Regions from separate parts of the Homo sapiens genome. Here region 1 is linked to region 2. The links are contacts of gene promoters, found by promoter capture Hi-C in blood cells and fetal thymus (Javierre and others, 2016). All regions are on one chromosome and are shown on one strand. Each heading gives the region's core, a stretch centred on a gene start or on the middle of the fragment in contact. The rest is flanking DNA. Distances are from core to core; before and after follow the strand shown.

Region 1 (4,560 bases), core at 187-2,686, 130 kb after region 2:
ACAGTTTACATTTTTCCCAGACCCAATGCCATTGCCCTTGTTCAAACCACCATCATCTTTCTTTTATTTTTATTTTTGTAAATGTTTAATAGAGACAAGATCTTATGTTGCCTAGGCTGGTTTCAAACTTCCAGGGTCAAGTGAACCTCCTGCCTCAGTCTTACAAAGTGCTGGGATTACAGGCGTGAGCCACCATGCCCAGCTGGCCATCGTCTTTCACCTGTTACAGAAATTGAATCTCATCTAGTTGCCTGGAGTAACTAATGACTTGGGGTGTGTTCTAGGAGTCTGGGATTGTGTCTGGTGTACTGTAGGTGCTCAGTCGTTCTTGTTGAATATTTGTTGTTCCACTCTTGCCTCCCTGTAATCTCTTAAGCACCAGGAGAAGCTTTCCAAAATATAAATTAAAGCATGTTATTCCCTTGCTTAACACCATCCAATGGATCACCTCATTTACACTTTTGAATAAACGCTAAATTCCCGACCATGGCCTATGAGCCCCAACGTGATCTAGCCTTGCCTTCCTCTCCAGCCTCATTTCCTTCTCTCATCTTGCTCTCTCTGTTCCCAGCCTCCTTTCCATTCTTTGAACACCTGAGTCCTTCTCAAAGGCCATTTCTGCTTCTCCCCACCCTCCATTGTTATCTCTTTGTTCTAGTATAACCCTCCCCACCAAGTAGTTTCTGGTCCCTAGGAATAATTGTCACTTCATTACCTTCATGACTCTTACCACTGTCCATGACTTCTTCGTTTTTTGTTGTTGTTGTTGTTGTTGTTTGTTTGTTTTGTTTGTTTTGAGATGGAGTTTTTGCTCTGTTGCCCAGGTTGGAGCGCAATGACGATCTTGGCTCACTGCAACCTCTGCCTCTTGGGTTCAAGCAATTCTCTTGCCTCAGCCTCCCAAGTAGCTGGGATTGTAGGCGCCTGCCACCACACCCAGCTAATTTTTGTATTTTTATTAGAGATGAGGTTTCACCATGTTGGCCAGGCTGGTCTTGAACTCTTGACCTCAGGTGATCTACCTGCCTTGGCCTCCCAAAGTTCTAGGATTACAGATATGAGCCACCGCGGCCGATGGACTTCTTCCTTTGTTTACTTGTTTATTTGCGTCTCCCCACTGGAGTGTAAATTTCAAGAGGACAGAAGACATGTCTGTTTGATTTGCTATCACATCCTCAGTGTCTGGCTCAGGACCTAGCTCAGCCTGGATGCTCCAAAATGAAACAGATTTTGGGTCCTGAGGCCCCAGATGAAACACCTCTGCCTCAGTGCTCTTATCTGTTAGATGGGCAGCTCATCAGGGTGACTGTGAAAATGAAATGAGATGATGGATATAAAGCAGCCTCGTGTTGCACAAATGCATTGTGAGTTGAATTCTAGTTCCTTTCAGCTTCAGCCTCTCTGGGTTTGTAGATTTCGGCTATGCCCCAAGGTTTCAAGGTGAAAGACCTTGAAACCCAGAAGGGCAGAGAGGCCTGGTCTGGTAGAGAATCAGGAGCAGAATCCAGGAGACCTGCCTTACAGCTCACCAGGGGGAAGGTGTGAGACAGCCCACCTGACCCCAGGGAACAAAGGCTGCCCACCTTGATAGGGAGAGGGTGGGCCACCATGCCTGTGCCTCTTCTTGGATAGCCAGTGGGGATGGTGCTATCATTGCACTGAGGCCTGCAAGACTCAGGCCACCACCCTTTGTCGGGAAACAAGGTCTTCCCTCAAGGACAGGATCACCTCTGGTGGGAATCTCCTAGAGAAGAGGCAGCTCCTCAGGCCAGGCACGGTGGCTCACGCCTGTAATCCCAGCACTTTGGGAGGCCGAGGCGGGTAGATCACAAGGTCAGGAGTTCAAGACCAGCCTGGCCAACATGGTGAAACCCCGTCTCTACTAAAAGTACAAAAATTAGCTGGCCATGGTGGCATGTGCCTGTAGTCCCAGCTACTCTGGAGGCTGAGGCAGAAGAATTGCTTGAACCCGGGAGGCAGAGGTTGCAGTGAGCAGAGATTGTGCCACTGCATTCCAGCCTGGGTGACAGAGCAAAACTCCATCTCAAAAAAAAAAAAAAAAAGAGAGAGAAGAGGCAGCTCCTCCGAGATGGGTCAGAGCTCTATGGGGAGCCCCAGGTGGGCATCTAGATGGTGAAGAGCCCAAAGACTCTAGAAGTGGGTTCTCGGGACTTGCGCATGCGTACATGTGTTTATATGTGTATACATGTGTTTATATGTTTGTGCATGGGTGTTGTGTCCATGTGTTTATATGTGTGTGCATGTGTTTGTATGAATCAATGTGTACTGTATGCATGTGTGTTTGTGTGTGCGTATGTAGGTTTGTATGTGTGGGAGATGTATTTGTGTATGTAGATGGGATGTGTGTGTCAATGTGTATATGTGTACATGTAGTGTACTTGTATTCATTGTCTATTACTTTTTTTAAAAATCCAGTTTTAGCAAAGAATATCTATGGCTTATTGCTACATGACAAATTACCCCAAAGCTTAGTCGCTTAAACTATAAACATCTATTTCACAGTTTCTGTGGACTGGGAATCTGAGAGAGGCTTAGCTGGGTATTTTTGGTTCAGGGTCTCTCTTGAAGTTGCAGTGAAGATGTTACTCAGGGTTGGCTGTAGTCTTCTGAAGGCTTGCGTGGGGCTAGAGGATCCACTTTCAAGATGACTCACCCTCCTGGCAAGACGATGCTGGCTGTTGGCAGGAGGTCTCAGTTCCCTACCACATCAGCCTCTCCATATGGCTGCTTGAGTGCCTCATGACACAGCAGCTGGCTTCCTCTGGAGTGAGTGACCTGAGAGAGAGAGAGAACCAGGCAAAAGCCACAGTGTTTTTAAAACCTAGCTTTGGAAGTCCCATGCCATCATTTCTGCCATATTATACTGGCCACAGAGACCAACCCTGATACACTGTGGGAGGGACTACACAAAGGCATGAATTCCAAGAGGTAAGGATCACTGGAGGTCATCTTGTAGGATGGCTATCACATGCAGTATGTGCGTGTGGGTATGTGGGGTGTGTGTTTGTGGGTGTGTACATAAAGATGTGTGTGTTTGTGTATATATGTGTATGTTTTTGCATATGTATATATGGATATATAGCAATATGTTTGTGTGACATGTATCTATGTATTGTCTGCATATGTGTATGCATGCATTTATGTATATGTATCTGTGTATTGCACATGTGTGTTTTTTGCGCACGAGTATGCATGCATGTATTATGCCTACATGCATGTCTCTGTGTTTGTATGTTGTGCATGTGTGCATATATGTGTATGCCTTTTTGTATGTATTTGTAGTATGTGAATGAGCATATGTATGCATGTGTGATGGGTTTGTATATGTATCCAGGTGTATATGTGTGTCTATGCCTGTGGCTGTATATGTTTGCAAACATTGTATGTGCATGTGCACCTGTGTTGTGTGTGTGCATGTATGCTTACATGTGTGTGTTTCTGTATAGATGTCCATGTGTAAGTCCGCATGTGTCTGTTTATGTGTGTGTAGGTGTATATATGTTACGTTTATGTATGTGTGTGAGGTGTATGTGTGTAGGTTTGAGAATATGTGTGTGCATTACTATGTACATATTGCACTTGTATATATAAATGTGTGCTGGCACATGCATACAAACTTAGGAATGTCACCTGCTGTGGGAGGAAAGCCTGGAGTCAGGAGTGGGGAGACTCAGGGAGGAGTCCCTATTATTCCTGGGGTAGCCCATGAGTGGAAGGCTCTGGAGCCTGGAGAGCAGGCTCTCCCTTGCATTTAGGATATGTGGATCCATGGTCCTCTGCATCTGGCTTTCCTTTGTCAAGGCTTTCTGTTGTTGTTCATTTTTGTTTGAACATTTCAGTCTTTCCTAAGCTGTCAAATAAAGCAGCAGAGAAAGGGTGGTCTCTATTGCCTGGAAGTTGAGAGTTCAGTGTAGACTAGTGCCCCTTTGGGGCTGGCCTGGGGAAAACAAGGGGATTTCCCTGGAGAGCACGGCTGACCCTCCCTCTCATCTCTTCTCGCCTAGGGCCACTCTGGGAGCTTCTGGAGTTTATTGGGCAAGAAGGGAGGGCATTTCTTTACTTCTAATAATCCAGTCATCTTAGGAGCCACTCTTTTCCTCTTTCCATTTAGAATATTTCTGACACCAACTTTTGTGTTTAGAAGCTTTTATGCTTTTTTTTAAAAAAAGTATTTTTACCTTTTGATTATGAAAGGTAATACATATGAACAGAAGTAGACAGAATGTAAAGATACAGCTCAACAGATTTTCAGAGTGAATAGCCATTTATACTATCCAATAAGAGGGTTCAGGACATGCCACCCAGAAACATGGCACACTGGCATGTTGAATATTTTAAGCTGGAAGGATCTGAGAAACAGCATGTGCAGGACAATCTCTCTGACTTCCCTGATCCTTCTCTCCTGAAGGGATCTCCCTGATCCTTTCCCCATGTGAAAGGTGTCCTTCCTCCAAAGATGGGGACACAGACAGGAATCTGAACACATGGGCCTTGTTAAGTCTTTTGGGTAAATAAAATTAGTTTTAAGATTGTTGGCAG
Region 2 (4,466 bases), core at 179-2,678:
GTAAGCTCAGGGCTGGGGGAGCCTTAACTCTGGCCAGTCTGGGTGTCTACTGCTGCTTTCCTGGCCCAAAGCCAGAATCTGTCCCTTTGTTGGGGGCTGTTTCATCTTCTATTTAACGGACAGAAGAGTCCCTCCCCCGCCCATCCTGGGAACCCTGGTCTCCCAAGAGACTAACAGTTTGGAAGCACTTCACAAACAAATGTTTGAGAAAAGCACATGGCCCTACCAGCTCCATGGACAGTATGTGCTCCTCTCCAGCCCTCGATGCTCTGCAGCTGCTGGAGGAGAAGATGTCAGGCCCCAGAGAGTGGGCAGTGGGGATAAAAAGGAACCCAACCCTCCCAGCCATCCACACCCCACCAAGAGGAGGCCAAGCATGGGGCAGGAAGGCTGCAGTGGGGAAGAAGCACCCTTCCAGCCCAGGACTACGAGCACTTCCTCTGGCTGTGCTAAACCGGGCCACTCTTCCAACTCCAGGGTCTCAAGAAGTAACTTAGGGACCCCATGGAGAATGAGTGGGTACAGACCTGAGGCCAGGGGCGCCTCTGGACTATTTCTCCATTGCCCTACCTTAGCCTCAGAAATGACATACTTCTCAGGGTCCACAAAACCTCAAGAGTCTTTCCTGAAGAGGACCTTTCTGGTCAACCCCTTCTCTTACTTCCCTAGCACCAAAGATCCAGCCGGTGAGCAAACCTTCTGGATGGGAAACCTTGACTGGGTCAGTGTAGACCCCCGATCCTAGGTGAATTTGTGGGTTCCCTAGGTCCTGTAAGCCAGGCATGGTCGAGGTGGTACTCACCTGTCCGTGCAGCCCCTGGGGGCCGTGGATCTTGGCCCAGCCTGGCCCCGGTGGGATTCCCTGGGCTAGTGAGAGCCCTGCCCCTCAGGGAAGTCACCACTCACAGGGTCAGTGTGGACCAGGGCCCGTGGAGCCCCGGCCGGCTGGGCCTGGGCTCAGGGGTTCCTGCGGATGTTGCAGGGATCGAGTCAGCCTTACAGCTGATAGCCCGGGTGGGTTGGCTTGCCTCCCCACACCCAGCCGCGGCGACCGTGGACCGGAGTCCACCTCGCCCCAGGGTCGCCCGGCCCCAGGCCAAGGGCTGGCAGCTCCCAACAGCGGACAACCTCGCGCGCGGCCCCGGCGCCCGCGCGCGCCCCCGTCTGCGCGCGCCAGCAATCAAAACATTCCGGCTGCGCGCCCCCGCCCCGCCGGCGGCGCCCCTTCCTCCGTTACCCGCCGCGAGCTCACTTAGGGCTCCGCAGGCACCCCTGGGCAAGGCCAGACACGGGGCCTGGGATTCCAATAACCGGTCTCACGTCTTACCTCAGGAACAGCGACCCGGGTGATTCCAGAGGCTCCGCCGGCTCCGCTCGGCTCGGCTCGGCTCGGCGCGACCCGCGGCGCTAGGCCGGGTGTCTGCCACTCACTGTCACCCGCAGCCAGGCTGGCCAATAAGCACGGGGGGCGGAGACACAACGGCCAATTCTCGGCTTCAGGGACGGGACTAAAGTCTCGAGGCGGGTCTTGGACAGTCAGCGGCCCAATAGTGTGCTCTACGTGGGGCGGGGCTCAGGTGCGGACGCCGCCGGTTGTCCTCTTCGCTGCTCCGTAGTGACGGGGATTGTTGTGTTGCAGAAATCCGGCAATCGACCTGAGGACTTGCGAGCCGCTCAGCTCCCGGGACGTTTGGTGCGTCTTCTAAGGGCGTGGGCGAGTTTACGCGGGCCAGTTGTTGCTGGTCGCATGGGTAACGAAGAAAGTTCGGCTAGGCAAGCTCAGTGATTTTTAACTCTGTTGGACTCGATTTGGGAGCCGAATGCCTATTTCATTCTTTTGTGGGCTGAGACTGGGGGTTTGAGAAAGTGGACGGGGGCCAAGGTATTCATCTCACAGTTGGTAGCAGGATGAGAGACGAGAAGTCTTGCGGTGCAGGAGAAACCAAGTCAGGCAGGCAGGAGACGCAGCAGTAGGATCTCGTTTGCAGGAGCCCTGTTTCTTACACGCTTTCTACTCCAGGAGCTGCTGCTAAATAATTTCTGCTCAGCCATGTCGCCGGCTCCAGATGCAGCCCCGGCTCCTGCGTCGATCTCCCTGTTTGACCTCAGCGCGGATGCTCCGGTCTTTCAGGGCCTGAGCCTGGTGAGCCACGCGCCTGGGGAGGCTCTGGCCCGGGCTCCGCGTACTTCCTGTTCAGGTATCCTGGAAGGTTTCGTGTGAAACGTGACAGGGCTCCTTACAGCGTATTGCCCGTTCAGGGAACACATTCTTATTGGTATTCCCGAGCTTAGGAGGCCAATTGATTTATCTTTCTGCTTGATTAAATTCACTTAATCTCTGGGTAATGTCCAGCACAGCCCTTGTTTTCAAACAAGTCTTTTTGCCATTGCATGTATCTCCTCACGTTAACACCATTCCCTTCAAAAACACTTTAAACTTTGTAGAGATAAAATTCTCAGATGTATTCCACATTTAACCAGGCCCCACTCAAATTATTCCTTTTTGCTGAATATGAAACAATTTATTATTTGTTTCGTATAGCTTTATTTTTTGAGAGTCTCGCTCTGTCGCCCAGGCTAAAGTGCAGTGGCACGATCTCCACCCACTGCAATCTCCGTCTCCCGGGTTCAAGTGATTCTCCTGCCTCAGCCTCCCGAGTAGCTGGGACTACAGGCCCGCACCACCATGCCCGGCTAATTATTGTATTTTTAGTAGAGACGGGGTTTCACCATGTTGGCCAGGCTGGTCTCAAACTCCTGGCCTCAAGTGATCCGCCTGGGTCAGCCTCCCAAAGTGCTGAGATTACAGGCATGAGCCACCGTGTCGGTCCTGTTTTGTGTAACTTTAGTTTGGCTACATCTTTTCTTGCACCTCTCCTTAGACAAACTGTACACTAATTGGAAATGTAAACTTTAAAAAGCATTTGGGAAGTAGTTTTTGTGCAGTGAAAAATAATTTTAAACTGAACAGAAATTATTTTCTTTAGGATTCACCTAAACAATCTGTTTGGCTAATTTAAATTAGACAAGACTCAAACTCAGCCAGTGGGGAGGACTTGCAGACGCTGGATCTCGGGAGAGGGCTACGTTGGAGAAGTTTAACCGACCCCAAGGCTTTTACCCTCATCGGATTCTTTTCCAGAATGCCCAGGGCCAGTTTTTATTTACATTCGTTTTATTTATTTTATTTTTCTTCATCTTTTTTGAGACAGAGTCTCGTTCTGTTGCCCAGGCTGGAGTGCAGTGGTGTGATCTCGGCTCACTGCAAGCTCCGCCTCCCCGGTTCATGCCGTTCTCCTGCCTCAGCCTCCCAAGTAGCTGGGACTACAGGCATCCGCCACCACACCCGGTTAATTTTTTGTATTTTTAGTAGAGACGGGGTTTCACCGTGTTAGCCAGGATGGTCTTGATCTCCTGACTTCATGATCCGTCTGCCTTGGCCTCCCAAAGTGCTGGGATTACAAGCGTGAGCCGCTGCACCTGGCCAATTTTATTTTATTTACATTCATTTTACGTACATGTTTTCAGAAGCATGTTTATTGCATTAAGTGATTGCTGTACTGTTTATTTCATGACTATTAGAGTGTAAATTCCTTGAAGGCAGTATCATGCCATCTCTTTTGTATCCTCCTCTGCTTTGTATATCACACTCTGAATATAATTCTTGTCACTGTGGATTTGGGCTCCCTTTCTATGTCCAATTCCTCTTCCCTTATTTAGGCTCAGGGGAGAGAGAAAGCCCAGAAAGAAAGCTACTCCAGGGTCCTATGGATATTTCAGAGAAGTTATTTTGTTCAACTTGTGACCAGACCTTCCAGAACCACCAAGAACAGGTAATAGGTCAGGTGCAGAGCTAGATGTTAGAAGCAAAAGTGTAATGGTGGGTGGGGAGAGGTAGACATTTGATTTGTCTTAATAAAGGTCCATGCTTTGACTGAGGCAGTTGGTGTTACCTGGTTGTACTTCCTAGAATACTATAACTGGTCTTGGCCAGTACAAGGCCAGGCTGGGGCATATTTCCACCTTTATCTCACTCTTTGTCTTTGTACTAGAGGGAACATTATAAGCTTGACTGGCATCGGTTTAACCTAAAGCAACGTCTCAAGGACAAGCCTCTCCTGTCTGCCCTGGACTTTGAAAAGCAGAGCTCCACAGGTGATGAGTGGTAGGGGGACCTATGTAGGAGTAGGACATGGAGGTATAAGAAAGCACTAGTTTAGAGTTTGAGGAAAGAACAAAAATGGGGTACCAAACTTGTGTATCTCATATTGTCTGTCTTCAGGAGATCTTTCCAGCATCTCGGGATCAGAAGACTCAGACTCAGCCAGTGAGGAGGACTTGCAGACACTGGATCGGGAGAGGGCTACATTTGAGAAGTTGAGCCGACCCCCAGGCTTTTACCCTCATCGAGTTCTTTTCCAGAATGCCCAGGGCCAGTTTCTTTATGCCTACCGCTGTGTCCTAGG

What was found. The method cuts DNA at HindIII sites, captures the fragments that hold promoters and counts their contacts. A CHiCAGO score of 5 or more calls a contact.
Region 1: a contact is called between a fragment that was not itself captured here and the fragment with the promoter of ATG9A in region 2, in 1 of 17 cell types (erythroblasts). The highest score is 5.1, in erythroblasts.

Annotation. Positions count from the first base shown.
Region 1 is chr2:219,360,013-219,364,572 of GRCh38, forward strand. LOC105373883 (a long non-coding RNA gene) reads right to left here. Exons shown (of 2, transcript XR_923917.3): 2 at 2,490-2,796. Among named protein-coding and RNA genes, the nearest start is that of DNPEP, 26 kb to the right of the region's middle. RefSeq lists an enhancer at 2,551-2,600. The HindIII fragment of the contact is 2,100 bases long and covers 387-2,486 here.
Region 2 is chr2:219,228,208-219,232,673 of GRCh38, forward strand. ATG9A (autophagy related 9A) reads right to left here and starts at 1,429. Exons shown (of 16, transcript NM_001077198.3): 1 at 1,328-1,429; 2 at 227-278. ANKZF1 (ankyrin repeat and zinc finger peptidyl tRNA hydrolase 1) reads left to right here and starts at 1,599. Exons shown (of 14, transcript NM_018089.3): 1 at 1,599-1,693; 2 at 2,021-2,198; 3 at 3,721-3,833; 4 at 4,053-4,155; 5 at 4,283-4,466. The coding sequence starts at 2,051. RefSeq lists enhancers at 369-917, 918-1,465, 1,466-2,013, 1,684-1,793 and silencers at 1,144-1,193, 1,404-1,533. The HindIII fragment of the contact is 5,267 bases long and covers 1-4,065 here.